3 separate regions of the Homo sapiens genome follow, and all the other regions are linked to region 1. Evidence: promoter capture Hi-C in 16 types of primary human blood cells and fetal thymus (Javierre and others, 2016). All regions are on one chromosome and are shown on one strand. The core of a region is centred on a gene start or on the middle of the fragment in contact, and the rest is flanking DNA. Distances in the headings are between cores, read along the strand shown.

Evidence for each region. The method cuts DNA at HindIII sites, captures the fragments that hold promoters and counts their contacts. A CHiCAGO score of 5 or more calls a contact.
Region 2: the fragment with the promoter of COASY here is called in contact with the fragment with the promoter of CNP in region 1 in 2 of 17 cell types (total CD8 T cells and activated CD4 T cells); the score reaches 6.3 in total CD8 T cells.
Region 3: a fragment that was not itself captured here is called in contact with the fragment with the promoter of CNP in region 1 in 2 of 17 cell types (fetal thymus and endothelial precursors); the score reaches 5.9 in fetal thymus.

What each region holds. Positions count from the first base shown.
Region 1 is chr17:41,964,240-41,968,583 of GRCh38, reverse strand. CNP (2'',3''-cyclic nucleotide 3'' phosphodiesterase) reads right to left here and starts at 1,789. Exons shown (of 4, transcript NM_033133.5): 1 at 1,697-1,789; 2 at 1-516. The coding sequence starts at 1,699. It overlaps ODAD4 (outer dynein arm docking complex subunit 4), which reads right to left. Exons shown (of 12, transcript NM_031421.5): 12 at 2,081-3,591. The coding sequence ends at 3,101. RefSeq lists enhancers at 1-199, 200-757, 758-1,315, 2,417-2,516 and silencers at 1,287-1,476, 1,607-2,046. The HindIII fragment of the contact is 2,895 bases long and covers 696-3,590 here.
Region 2 is chr17:42,559,833-42,564,176 of GRCh38, reverse strand. COASY (Coenzyme A synthase) reads right to left here and starts at 2,029. Exons shown (of 9, transcript NM_025233.7): 1 at 855-2,029; 2 at 2-216. The coding sequence starts at 1,554. RefSeq lists enhancers at 1,504-1,693, 1,704-1,953. The HindIII fragment of the contact is 14,901 bases long and covers 1-4,344 here.
Region 3 is chr17:42,507,525-42,511,868 of GRCh38, reverse strand. ATP6V0A1 (ATPase H+ transporting V0 subunit a1) reads right to left here. Exons shown (of 22, transcript NM_001130021.3): 18 at 4,242-4,344; 19 at 3,280-3,297. Among named protein-coding and RNA genes, the nearest start is that of MIR5010, 4.5 kb to the left of the region's middle. The HindIII fragment of the contact is 5,404 bases long and covers 1-4,344 here.

The DNA.
Region 1 (4,344 bases), core at 540-3,039:
GTCATCAGCCGACAGCTGCCACTGGTTCTTCTCCTTGAGCTGGGCACAGTCCAGCCGCCACGCCGTCTTGGGCTCCACCAGCACCACCTGGTACTGGTACTGGTCGGCCATTTCAAAGAGCTGCTCCAGCCGTTCCCGTTCGTGGTTGGTGTCATCAAGCACAAGAATTCTGATGTCCCGGCGGCGGCAGTAGGCAGCCAGGTCCTCATCGAGCCGCTTGTACTCCTCGGAGAAGGCTCCTCGAGCGCCGGGGGTGATCTTGTAAGCGTCAGCCGACACCATCTTGGTGCCATCACGGTACTTGTCCACGATGACCCGTGCCAGCGTGGACTTGCCGCTTCCTGGCAGGCCGCGCAAGATGAAGAGCGTCTTGCACTCTAGCAGCGTGGCCACTGTGTCCTCATCCTGAAGGAAGGGAAACTGCAGCTCAGGCTTGTCCTTGGCCCCTGAGGATGACATCTTGCGGAAGAAGATCTTGGGCAGGAATGTGTGGCTTTTTCGGGAGAAGCCTCTGTTCTGTGTAAGGAGGGGAAGAGATGTCAGCCCAGGTCATTCGCGGGCTCCCCGCCGGCCTTACCCCTAGTCCCTAGACTGGTTGTGGGTGCCTTCCCAAGCGGGGCAGTGCTGGACCTTCTTTCCCTTTCGGTCCGGGAGCACCTTTCCGCTTCTGGTCGTGGAGGAGGAAGAGGGAAGCTTGTCTGAAGCTCTCCTAAGCGTGCGCTTTCCCCATTCCTGCCACTTCGGAAAGGTAAACGTGCTGGAGGCATGCGGGGCGCGCCAGGAGCCTGCGGTTCTGGGACTGGCCTCACTCTTATATGCTTGGCACCTACTAAGGACGTCCTCTTTGGAGGTGGGGGTCTCTGTGTCTGGGCCAAGCCACAGCTGCCACGGCTGAGTGCACAGAGAAGGGGGGGAGTGGAGAAGGGTTACCCCAAGACTGCCTCCCTTCCCCCAACAATGGCCGCAACAGATAATACTCTCTTGTCTGGCATGCGGGTACAATGGTCCCACAGAAGGGCTGGTGGGGGGCAGGGCAGGAGAGCACTGGACAAAGGCCCTCTTTCACCAAGCCTGCCACCTCCTCCTCTACCCTCTCCCGGCCCCCACAAAGTCGTGGTCTTTGTGCCTGTCCAGAACAGGGCAGCACAGGGCACCTGCAATTAGGATCCAGCTCTACCCGCCGCTGTGCTGTGTGTCAGAAGCGCCTCTCGGAGCCACTTGTTTTCCTATCTTCTAGAAGCCACAAGGGACGGCAGCTTTTACCGTAAAGGGTCCCCTCCTCTGAACTGGCTCCACCTCCCGCCCGCACCCGGGCGCGGGGCAGCGGTTCCGCGTGATGAGACTGGGCCCGGGGAGGGGGCGCCGAAGCGGCTGCCCCAGCGCGGGCCTGCGTGGGGTCGGGAGCAGCTCCCGGGCTCCCGGCCCAGGCCCACCCAGGCTCCCAGAGGCGCAGCAGCTTCTGCGGTCCCGAGTTCCCTCCTGAGAAACACCACCGTTTCCCTTTACAGCGGCCTCTCCGGCACCCCAAAACCCCTCCGCTTCTCCCAGACCTCAGGGCCGCCCTGAGTACCAAGAAAACTGGAAGTCGAACCCGGAGCCCCGGGTCCTCGTTTGCAAGACGCTTCCTCCCGAGGGGCCCCGACACTCGTTTCCCGCCCTGGTGCTACCCCGTGCCCGGCCCCGCCCGGCCTCTCACCATGATGAGGAGGGGCGCCACCGTCGCCGCCTCTGCCGGCACCAGCGCTCCGGGGCCGCCCGCCTGCGCGGAGGGACACGGGAGTCCAGCGGTGGCACGACCCGAGCCCGGCCGCTTTACATAGCCCGGGGGGCGGAGCGGGCACCCGGGCGGGCTGGGGGCGGGCCGTCTCCTCTGCGCGCAGGCGCTGCGAACCAAAACCCGAAACTCTCGCCGCGCGCGGGAACCTCGGCCCGGTCCCGCCCCCTGCGCGCGCCTGCTCCCCACGCGCACCCACCCACTGCGCCTGCGAGCTGAGCGGCCACTAGCTTTTTCTGCGTGTTGAGGGGTAACTCAGTCACCCTCCCCGGTCCCGTGGATTAGCAGGAAGTGAGTGAGGCAGGGTCGTGCAAAGTCGGATCCTGTCTTTAATTTTTGATATTTTATTCATCATGGACTTTTGCATTAATTAAAAACTTTTTTTTTTACCACATTGGATTAAAATATTATCATGCAATTTGCTGGCATTCCGGTAAACTCTGCATCTGAAATGCCTCACTGGCCTCATTCGTCCAGGCCCTGTGCCAGCCGAAAGTCAGTCTCAGCCCCGACCTTTCCTTCTAGGAGCTGTGGAGACAGACCAGGATGGCAATGGCCAAAGGGACAGATGAGTAACGGAGTGAAATCCTAACATCCTCTGAGGCCAGATCCTCAGCTGCCACCTCCTCTGTGAAACCACTGAGAGCTCCGTTGGATTTTTGAGTTTCCTGTCCAAGTGCTGTGCTAAGCACTCAGTCCTCGCAGCAACCCCTGAGGCAGGTATCCCATTGTTCAGAGGAGAAGCCAGCTTGGAGAGCCTGATTTACCTGATTATGCCACCCAGAGGTGTCAGAGGCGGAGTCTGTCTGCCCTCCCGACTCCCAGGCCACTCCCCTATCTTTGGCCTCACTCCCAGCATTCGCTTGGTTCTGGCTTGCGGCATTCTCCTACCTGTGACAGCTGGGGCCGCCCCACCACTGTTCCATCCATAAAGCCTCCCCGCTGTCCTGCGCACTGGAGGGACTCAGTCAGTCACCGGTGTGTGGGAAGCACCTCTCCTCCCAGGCCTTCCCCTCTCCTCCCTGTGACTTCTTGTTCCCTGTAGCGCCCGTATCTTCACCCTCCTGAAACCCTTTCTTCTTGGCACCTTTCTCATTTCTTCCACGATGCTCTTCCAAGAATGGGCAGGGGTGAAGAGGCAAAGTGACAGACTCAGGGTTTGCAAGAGTGAAAGACACCTATTTAATGGCAAAATAGTGATGGAAAGCAGCAGAAGTAAAACCCTCATTTTTCCTATAACAGACAAATCGCTTGAAAATCCAGTTTAATAAAATCCCATGATCCCTCTGAACACCAGCTTCCTGATCCTCATCTCTACCGATGGCTTCATTCATATTCCTTTTCCATCTCATTTCCTGTTTTTTTCGTTTCTCCTATTTCTCCAAATTGTGTTTTTCCCAGTTCTTCTGGCTCTCTTCTGCCCACTTCTGAAAGTTTCTTTAGTTCTTCTGGTTCCTGTCTGCTGAATTCTCCTGAGAGTCTTTGCTCTAATTCTCCCGAAGGCCTCCTATAAATTTCTCTTGACTCTCTTCTGCCAGCTTCTAGTAGCTTCCTGCCTGTTTCTCCTGATCTTGTGCCTAATTCTCCTGACAGGCCCTTGGCAACTGCTCCCAAATCGCTTCTGGCTTTTCCTGCTTCCACACTCTGCTTTCCGCTTGCTGGGCTCTGCAGAGCTTCCCCAAAAGCCTCATCGTCCTCATCTGTCTCTTTCTCATCCTCACTATGGTCCCACTGCTTCACCACCTTCTCGGGCTCATCTCTCACTCTCCTCATGTCCTTCTCTCTTGTTATTATTCTATCTTCATACAGTGAAGCTTCTGAAAAATAAGAGAAAAGCGGGAAGAAAGATAAAAGTTTGTTCATGTCAGGCCGGGTGCGGTGGCTCACGCCTGTAATCTCAGCACTTTGGGAGGCTGAGGCAGGCAGATCCCTTGAGGCCAGGAGTTCCAGACCAGCCTGGGCGACACAGTGAGACCCTGTCTGTACTAAAAATACAAAAATTAGCCAGGCGTGGTGGTTGGCGCCTGTAGTCCCAGCTACCCGGAGGCTGAGGCAGAAGAATCGCTTGAGCCCAGGAGGTTGGGGCTGTGATGAGCCAAAATCCAGCCACTGCACTGCAGCCTGGGTGACAGAGCAAGACCCGTCTCCAAAAAAGAAAGAAGAAAAAAAAGAAAGAAACTGTTCATCTCTGTGGAGGCCTGTGCTTTTGAGAGGCCGATGAGAGAAAGGCCCTGAGAATGACTGTTTTTGCCAGCTCTTTAAATTGGTGTTGACAGCACACCTTTCCAAAAGCAGAGAAAGGGAACCATCATTGACTGAGCCCAGCTCCGTCCTGTGCATCACGTGAGGGCTGTATAGCTTATCCCATCCAGACATCATGAAAATGCGCACTGCCGTTGATTTGAGTTTGCAGTCAAGGGACCTGAGATCGATAGAAAAGAAATCACACGGCCGGGCGGCATGGCTCACGCCTGTAATCCCAGCACTTTGGGAGGCCGAGGCAGGTGGATCACCTGAGGTCAGGAGTTTGAGACCAGCCTGGCCAACAAGGTGAAACCCCGTCTCTACTA
Region 2 (4,344 bases), core at 780-3,279, 600 kb before region 1:
CATTCTCAAGGCGGAAGCGGTTGATGGCCATCCCCCCACGATAGGTCTCCTCGCTGACCACCAGGAACTCCAGGGAGGGGTCAGAGCCAGCGGGCCCATAGGGGTCCAGCAGGGGGATGACATCAAAAGTCAAGGAGGGCTTGATGTCCACCAGGAATTCACTCAGATGTTCCACACGTTCTGTATAAGGTTGGAGCAGCTCAGGGAGCAACTTGCCTGGGGAAGGAGCCCAGAAGAACAGTGAGATCTTTTTATTGGGGAGGAGAGTATGGGCCAGTTTGGGAAAAAGTGTCCCTAAGTACAGTATCCCCAGAGGGGGTGGCAGAAAGGGTTCAACTGGTAAGGCCTATGGTGATGGTGAGGGGAGCATGAAGGTGAAGAAACAGGCAAGCACAATAGTCACTCCAAGGGCTGGCATGTGTCCAGAGAATAAGCCACCAGGAAACCACTCCAGAGAACGAGCAGTGCCAGAGGGCATCAGAGGCAGATGGAAAATTCCAAGACCCATGCCATGCTTGAGTTTCCTCCTCCTGTCTGTGGCACTGCTACCTGCAGCTCACTCACCCATTCATTCCCAGTGTCTCATTAGGGTGTATCACCTGGAAAACTTGCTAAAATGCAGATCCCTTTGCTTCACATTTGGGGTATTCTGATTGAGTGGTGACTGGACCACATGCTGAGAAAGCTGTTCATTTGACAAAATGGCCTTAGCACCAATTGAGTGTCAACCACTGTGACATTTGGGAAGGGTGGGAAGTAATGAATGGCCCTACCCTTCCTTGATCTCGGCATAAGGGTCGGGGGTGGGGAGATTTGGGGATCCTCCACCCTAGTCCAGGGTCCCTCTTACTCACTCTTCAACAGATCTTTGTCTGCTACTCCCACCACAAGCTGCTCCTGGGCCAGGATGCACGCGACACTGAGCAACACCTTGTGGGCGTTGTGCAGGCGGTCAAACGTGCCACCGACAGCGCCACGGTAGTAGCCACGCACCGGCTGCTTTGGAGACCCGGCCACGGGGGAAGCTGGCCTGATCGTGGAGGGTAAGGGGACATCCAGGGGCTCCACGGGCACTTCTCCTATCCCATAATCGGAGTATAGCAGCACCGAGGCCAGTCGCGGACAACAGCTGTAACAGCTGGTGGCGTAACGCACTAGCTGCTGTTTGACCGGGTTGTACTGGCTTCCATCCAGGGTCTGGAAATCTGTCAACACGACTTCTGGCGGGTGGGCGAGATTCTGGACTGAGGTGGGCAGGGGAGGGAGAAAGGTGCTCTTGGTTCGGATATTGGTCAGTAGGATTCTGACGTCCAAGTGCCTGTGGACGTCGGCGCCAGCATAGAGGTGCGTGATGAAATCAAGAACCTCAAACGTGGCCTGCACGGGGCTGGACTGGGGCTGAGCCGGGCCCTCCAGGCTCATGCCCGGCTGCAGGTGAACATAGAGTGTGTGATTCACCAGCCGGGCCGCCGAGGTCAGGATGGAGGCCAGGCGAGGGGCTAGGGAGGCCAGCGGCGTCGTCAGCACCAGGAGACCCGACCGGAATACGGCCATGCTGCCCAGGCCTGCGGACAGTCAGGGAGACGAGGCGACGGTGACTGAAGGGCCTGCGGCCGAGGCAGAGGCCTGTATGGGACCTTGGACCCCAGAGAAGGAGGCCTGGAGCAGGGACGGGGTTTCAGTGCTGACCGACAGGAGCCGGGGGAGGGGACGGGGCCTGGTAGACGGCGCCTCGGGGCTGTGCTCTAAGCCTTGGTGTCCTCATTTCTCAGACGGGGCGGTGACTTCGCTGAACTGAGTCGAAATCCTGGGAGGGGGAAACTGGACAGGAACCCTTGTCACAGGGCTGGGGATCCAAAAATCCTGGGCCCTCTTGCTAAGCTGCACCAGGGTCTTCAAGGAATCGAAGAGGGAGGCTAAAGGGGGACGCTAAAGCTCACGTCGGCCCCCTACTCACTGAAACCTCAAGGCTTGGGTTCCACTTGCACCACCGCGGAGGCTTCCCTGGCTGCAACCCGGAAGCACTAACGGAGAAACCGCAACTCGGAACTACGGAAACGGAGGAAGGTCAAACGTCTCGACTTCGCTTCAGCGCGGGATTCTCGCGAGATTTCCAGTGGCATGGGCTGTGTCCTGCTGATGGGGTGGGGCTGATCCCGAAGGCTCTGGGAGTGGGTGAAGCCTTGATGCCGATCGGACCCCCGCTGGGACCGGGCGGAGAAAGGCAAGGCAGGTTTCAAAGCCCATTTCACAGATTCCCTTCTGGCCTGATGAGGAGAGATTAGTTTCAGCCAGGCCACCCAAGAGGCATCGGCAAAGCCAGAACTAACACCCAGATTTCCTTCATTCCAGGGACAGAGGTGGGGAATCACAGGGCTGCGCTGTATTAGCCCTCCTAGTACCCTCTCAGTCCGAGGATTCTCACATGGGAGGCTACTGGACAGGTCTGTCCACGTACCCATTTCACAGATGGAAAAACTGAGGCCTTGTGTGTACCTGGCTGCTGTAGGAGGCTCTCGCACCACCCAGATCCTCTGATGCGCTTGTTTGCGGGGTCTCTGTGGACAGGAGAAAAAGGCAAAGGCTGATTGGGCGCGGTGGCTCACGCCTGTAATCCCAGCACTTTGGGATGCCGAGGTGGGCAGAGCATCTGAGGTCGGGAGTTCGAGACCAACCTGACCAATATGGAGAAACCTTGTCTCTACTAAAAATACAAAATTAGACGAGCGTGGTGGCGCATGGCTGTAATCCCAGCTACTCAGGAGGCTGAGGCAGGAGAATCGCCTGAACCCGTGGGCGGAGGTCGCGGTGAGCCAAGATTGTGCCATTGCACTCCAACCTGGGCAACAAGAGCGAAACTCCCGGCCGGGCGCGGTGGCTGACGCCTGTAATCCCAGCACTTTGGGAGGCCGAGGCGGGCGGATCACGAGGTCAGGAGATCGAGACCATCCTGGCTAACACGGTGAAACCCCGTCTCTACTAAAAATACAAAAAAAAATTAGCCGGGCATGGTGGCAGACGCCTGTAGTCCCAGCTACTCGGGAGGCTGAGGCAGGAGAATGGCGTGAACCCGGGAGGAAGAGCTTGCAGTGAGCCGAGATCGCACCACTACACTCCAGCCTGGGTGACAGAGTGAGACTCCGTCTCAAAAAAAAAAAAAAAAAAAAAAAAGCGAAACTCCCTCTGGAAAAAAAAAAAGAAAAAAGAAAAAGGCAAAGGCTGGATACCTAGTGTGGGAGATTTACTGCGAAGCTAATGGGCGCTTGAAAGGCTGAGTGTGGAGGGGAAGCCAGGTTGCTATTAGAATACATCTCAGGTAAGTTGTGCATGGAGATCAAAAGGGAGAGAAGCCAGTCTCCAAGATTCCAGTAATGTGCCGTGGTATCCGAAACTTAAAAAAAAAAACAAAACTCACTTTTATATGTAATTTTGTGTTTATCTTTTGTATTCTTGAAGACGGTCTCCAAAAGCAAATAAGCCCCCAGCCCCACAAAACCTGGGCTTATGATGGAGAAAAGGAGATGCTATTTTAGATAAGGTGATTCAGGAAAACAGCAAAGACCTGGAGGAAGAGATACAGTCAAGGAGGGAAGAGTTGTAGAGCCACAAAGGTATTAAGGGACCAGGCTTCTCACAGGAGACATGTTAGATTTAAAGATAGGGTCTGATTTGAAGACACAAACAGCAAAGGCTGCCAGAGAATGTCCCAAGACATCTGGACACACAGTCTGACACACCACATACAGAGTCATTTTTATTGAGTAAATGTGTATTTTACTGCCTCCCACAGGGATGGACCAGTGAACAAAACAATGTCCCTGCCATCCTGGGGTATAGAGTACTGTGTGTCTTGGGGTTGCAGACAGGAATCATGCCACCATAAATAAATCTATAATACATGGCCAGGCGCGGTGGCTCACGCCTGTAATCCCAGCACTTTGGGAAGCTGAGGCAGGCAGATCACCTGAGGTCAGGAGTTCAAGACTAGCCTGGCCAACATAGTGAAACCCCGTCTCTACTAAAAATACAAAAAATTAGCTGGGTGTGGTGGCGGTACTTGTGATTCCAGCTACTCAGGAGGCTGAGGCAGGAGAATCGCTTGAACCTGGGAGGCAGAGATTGCAATGAGCCGAGATCACGCCACTGCACTCCAGCCTGGGTGACAGAGAGACTCCGTCTCCAAAAAAAATAAAAATTAAATTAAAAAACCCAAATCCATAATATATCTACTGGTGATAAAGGATAAGAACAAAAGTAAAGCAGAGTAAGGGAGCTATAGTGGAGAAGCTGAGAGGCTATTTTAGATAAGGTGGTTCAGGAAAACAGCAAAAATCTGAAGGAAGA
Region 3 (4,344 bases), core at 777-3,276, 540 kb before region 1:
GCCTCAGCCTCCTCAGTAGCTGGGATTACAGGCACGCACCACCACACCCGGCTAATTTTTTAGTAAAGATGGGATTTCACCATGTTGGCCAGGCTGGTCTCAAACTCCTGACTTCAGGTGATCCACCCACCTTGGCCTCCCAAAGTGCTGGGGATTACAGGCGTGAGCCCCCGCGCCTGGCCCAGCTGTTAAAGCTAACAGATGTTCTGTGCCCTTGTCCATGCTCCTGCAGTGTCTGTCACCATAGCCTCTTCCTCCTTTTTGAAATACCTGCCATCCCTTGGTTTTCCTCCTACCTCTCTGGACAGTTCTTTTTAGTCTCCATCGAGGTTCTTCCTTTTTTTTTTCTTTTTTCAAGACAGGAGTGCAGTGGCACGATCTCAGCTCACCACAACCTCTGCCTCCCAGGAGAATCAAGTGATTCTCCTCTCTCAGCCTCCCGAGTAGCTGGGATTACAGGCACATGCCACTACCGCCCAGCTAATTTATGTATTTTTAGTAGAGACGGGGTTTCACCACGTTGGCCAGCTGGTCTCAAACTCCTGGGCTCAAGCAATCCGCCCGCCTCAGCCTCCCAAAGTGCTGGGATTACAGGCGTGAGCCACCACGCCCAGCCAAGGTTCTTCCTTAAATGCCGATGCTCTCTGAAGTTTCAGCTTCAGCCCTTGCATCTTTCTGGTGGGATTGCTACTCAGGGCTTCAAGGGTCGCCCCTAGGAGTGACTCCAAGGTGGATCTCTCCATCTCTGCCTTGCCTATTTCCAGCCAGCTGTACTCCTTCTCCTGGGGAACGACAGGCTCTCCATGCTCAACACAGTAACTGCTCTCCTCTGACCACACCGAGATCAACTTCTATTCCATCTCCCATGTCCAGCAGACTGGAGAGTCTGGGAGTCAATCTCGAATCTTCTCTTACTCCTTACCTTTATTAAGGCACTGGGACCTATAGCTTTCACTTCTTTAATATCTCATATTGGTTCCTTCCTTTCCAACTTATCCTACAGACACTTCACTTCAGGCTCGCCATTCTGTCCTGAATCACATCAGATGATGTCGAGTCTATGCCTCCTGACCTTGTCCCTCCCCAACCCAATATACCCTACAACACAGCCACTGGGGGTATTTCAATGCGCCATGGCTGTGTCACCATCAGCTTCACCGCTCTCTCTTGGATGGCTCCTTGTTGTCCAAATGAGGCAAAAACTACTATGGCTGGTTTCTGCCAACCTCTAGTCTCACCTGTCCCCAGTTCCCCACTCCTGCCTCTGCTCCAGCCAAGCTGAATACTTGCTAGTCCCCAACACGTGATGGACCTACAGGTGTTTTGCCCCTGTGAAGCTGCATATGCTGGTGGGTCTGCACCACTCCCTCTACAGGGCCTCCTGCTTGACCAGAGTAAGACAACTTCCTTAGGGAGTCTTCCAGGGTCTCCTCTTCCACTCTCACCCCAGTGTTCATCAGTTGCCCTCTTTCTGTGCTCCTATAGCATCCGGGGCACACTTCTATTACAGCACCTGTCATCCAGACTATCTCCCCACTTTGGGAGGTCTTTGAAGGCAAGCACTATATTCTTCTTGTTTCTGCAGCACTATACATAGTGCTGGACAACACGGAGGGTGAGTGAATGCATGGATGGATGGGATGAATGCACCTGGTGAGGAGACAGTGGGGAGAGGTGCCACTGACCCTTGCTGAGTGGTCACGGCCTTTGAAGATTTCCCAGACAACCACTGGCCTGGCTCTGGTGTGTAGCTGGACTGAGTTCCCGCTAGGAAGAGGTACTAATGCTTCCACTGGGCTGGAGCAAGGGCCTGCATGGGACAAATACATTTTCACAGCCAAGCAAAATGGGGAAGTTCTAGAAGTAGGCTGAATGTTTTTTTAGGAACCTGTTTGGTTTGAAATCATTAGATAAATGTCATGGGTATCTAAATTTGGCTACAGAGAACCAGACTGTATATGTGCCTGATAAAGATAAAATGTTTAGACTACTTGGGTAGCCAAGGGTAGCTGAATCCCTGAGTGAGCTGGGTGGCCAGAGACTGGGGAGGCTGAATTAGAGTCTATCTTGTTGGATGTCCAACCTCCTGGGACATGGCTACAAACGAGAACGCTGGTACACAATAGTTGGTCAGACCATTCTGACAATGTGGGTGCTCGGCTAGGAAAACATTTAAAAGGCAGTGTTGTTGGAGGTAGTGAGCCAGGGAAAGGGTTGGGCTCCTCATTAACATGGAGCACGCCCCACCCATCCCTGCCAGGTAGCTCAGCCAGGGACTGCATAGATGAGCAGTCCAGGAACACAGACACTCTTTGATGCCAGCAAAGGAGCCTCTCTAGGCTTCAGGAAGAGCAGGCCCTACCTGTGTTTACACAGAACAGCAAAGGCTTTCCCATTCCCATCCCACTGCCCTCCTAGAGAGGACCGAGAGTCAGGAAGGGAAGGGTATGGTTTGTGGGTCTAGGCATTTTAGAGAGAAGTGCTGGGGGAAGATGCAAACAGTGCAGCAAGGTGTTTTAAAAACCCAGTTTAAAGAGTGTATGTTGCTAAGTGAATTACTGCTGAGCCAGAGGGCCTTCTACTCGAGATGTGGCCTGAACAGTTAGCCAATTTGCTTTCCAGTCTCCGTTATTCTCTATGTGGCTGATATAATATGAACTCCTTTCACACAGATGGATTATTTCCTTTGGGATGCATCTGGAAGGCAAAGCCTCCTTTTGAAAGCTGTCTCCCTCTCACCTGGGTCACATGGAGGTAGAGCTGACCCCGAGAAGGGTCCACCACTTCTAAGTTGAAGCATCATCAAGCTGAGGAGGGCAGCAGGAAGAGGCTGGCTCAGACAGGGAGGAAGGGTAAGGTTTGCTCACAAGCACTAGGAGGAGCAGGGAGGAAACGGCTACTCCCGGTGGCTGGGAGTAGATCAACCACAACATCACAGGAGAGGAAGGCAGAGGCCAATGGGACTTAACCCCCAAGAGGAGTCACTTCAAGAATGCCAGTGAAGACATTACTTGTAGCTCCTTTCAAAGCCATTCTCAGAGGTGTTAAATCAGCAAAGTCAATGAAACAAAGACAGAGGTGACCGACATGAGATGCAGTTAATGGAGATGAGCTTTTTAGAACACAGGCTCACGAACTGGTTTGAAATGGCCAGTGAGATGCAGAGGCACAGGAGTCATGTGTATGGCCCCAGGGTGTGGCAGGGTCAGCAGAGTGATCACAAGGATGGGAAGAGAGAAGCCCGGATAAACACGAAGGCAACGCCAGCTTTCATCTTACCACTTCGTCCTCGGAAGGCTTGAAAACACAAATTTACACTTAGTGGGGAGCCACGCCACACACAAGGTCACAAGTTAGGAGCACAAGGCTACTGAATGCTTCTTGGGGAGGACTGTTCATGTTAAATGGGCTAGCACGTTGGAGGCAGGCCTCCTCAGCATATACACAAAGCGAAATCAGCAGGAATTTAGAGCATTAAGATACATATTTTTTAAAGGCATCCACAACCCTTGTGATTTCTTTTTTAAAAAATCATATATAGTGAAAGTGGTCAGACAGACTGAAAAGTCCAACTTGAGTCCTCAACTCCTATTTTATTTGCTTTAAAAAGAACATAATGAGTAGATGAGATTTAATAGTTCAGTTCAGAGGCTTTGTGCTACAAGGGGTCAGGCAAGGAGAGTGGGCTTGGAGGTGGTATCTTAAGGAAAAGTCTAGTTTGGCCTAATTCTCTCTCTCCCTGTAAAAAGTAGGCAAATGACACCAAAAAAGCTCAAACAAAATATCTGCAGCAAGAACACATCAGTGGTGTAGGACTTCAAAAGTACCAGTGATTATAGCTGGTCAGTAATGTAATTGGAACGATCCTTGGAAGGGTCAATGGATGAAGAAGCTGTGCTTAGTGACCTGTGTTTCAGGTCATAAGAGCTGGGATGCTGAGGCCTGCTCTGCCTCAGGTGAGAGAGCAGTCAGTAATGGAGACCTGCGTGCAGAGCACTGCGGGCAAAATCTGGAATTCAAGATAGGAGCAAAACTGCTGCGGGCTCTGGGGGCAACAGCTGGAGCTTAGGGCAGGGCCCACTGGAAAAAGCTGTGGTGCCCTAAGAGGTCCAGAAGGCAGGCTGAATATTAATTAGTATTTTTATTTTTCAAGGAGAAGACTGGAGTGAGGCCTCTTAGGTACACAAGACTAGGGCTGACCCGAGGTGGAAGGAGAGAAAGCCCACACCACGGGATCTTACCTCGTCTGCGTCCTCTGAGTGGGTGGAGAGCTGGTCATGCTGAATAATCTCAGCATCCTCCTCTGTCGGTCCGTTGCCCACCCTGATCCCACCAAAGTTGAGA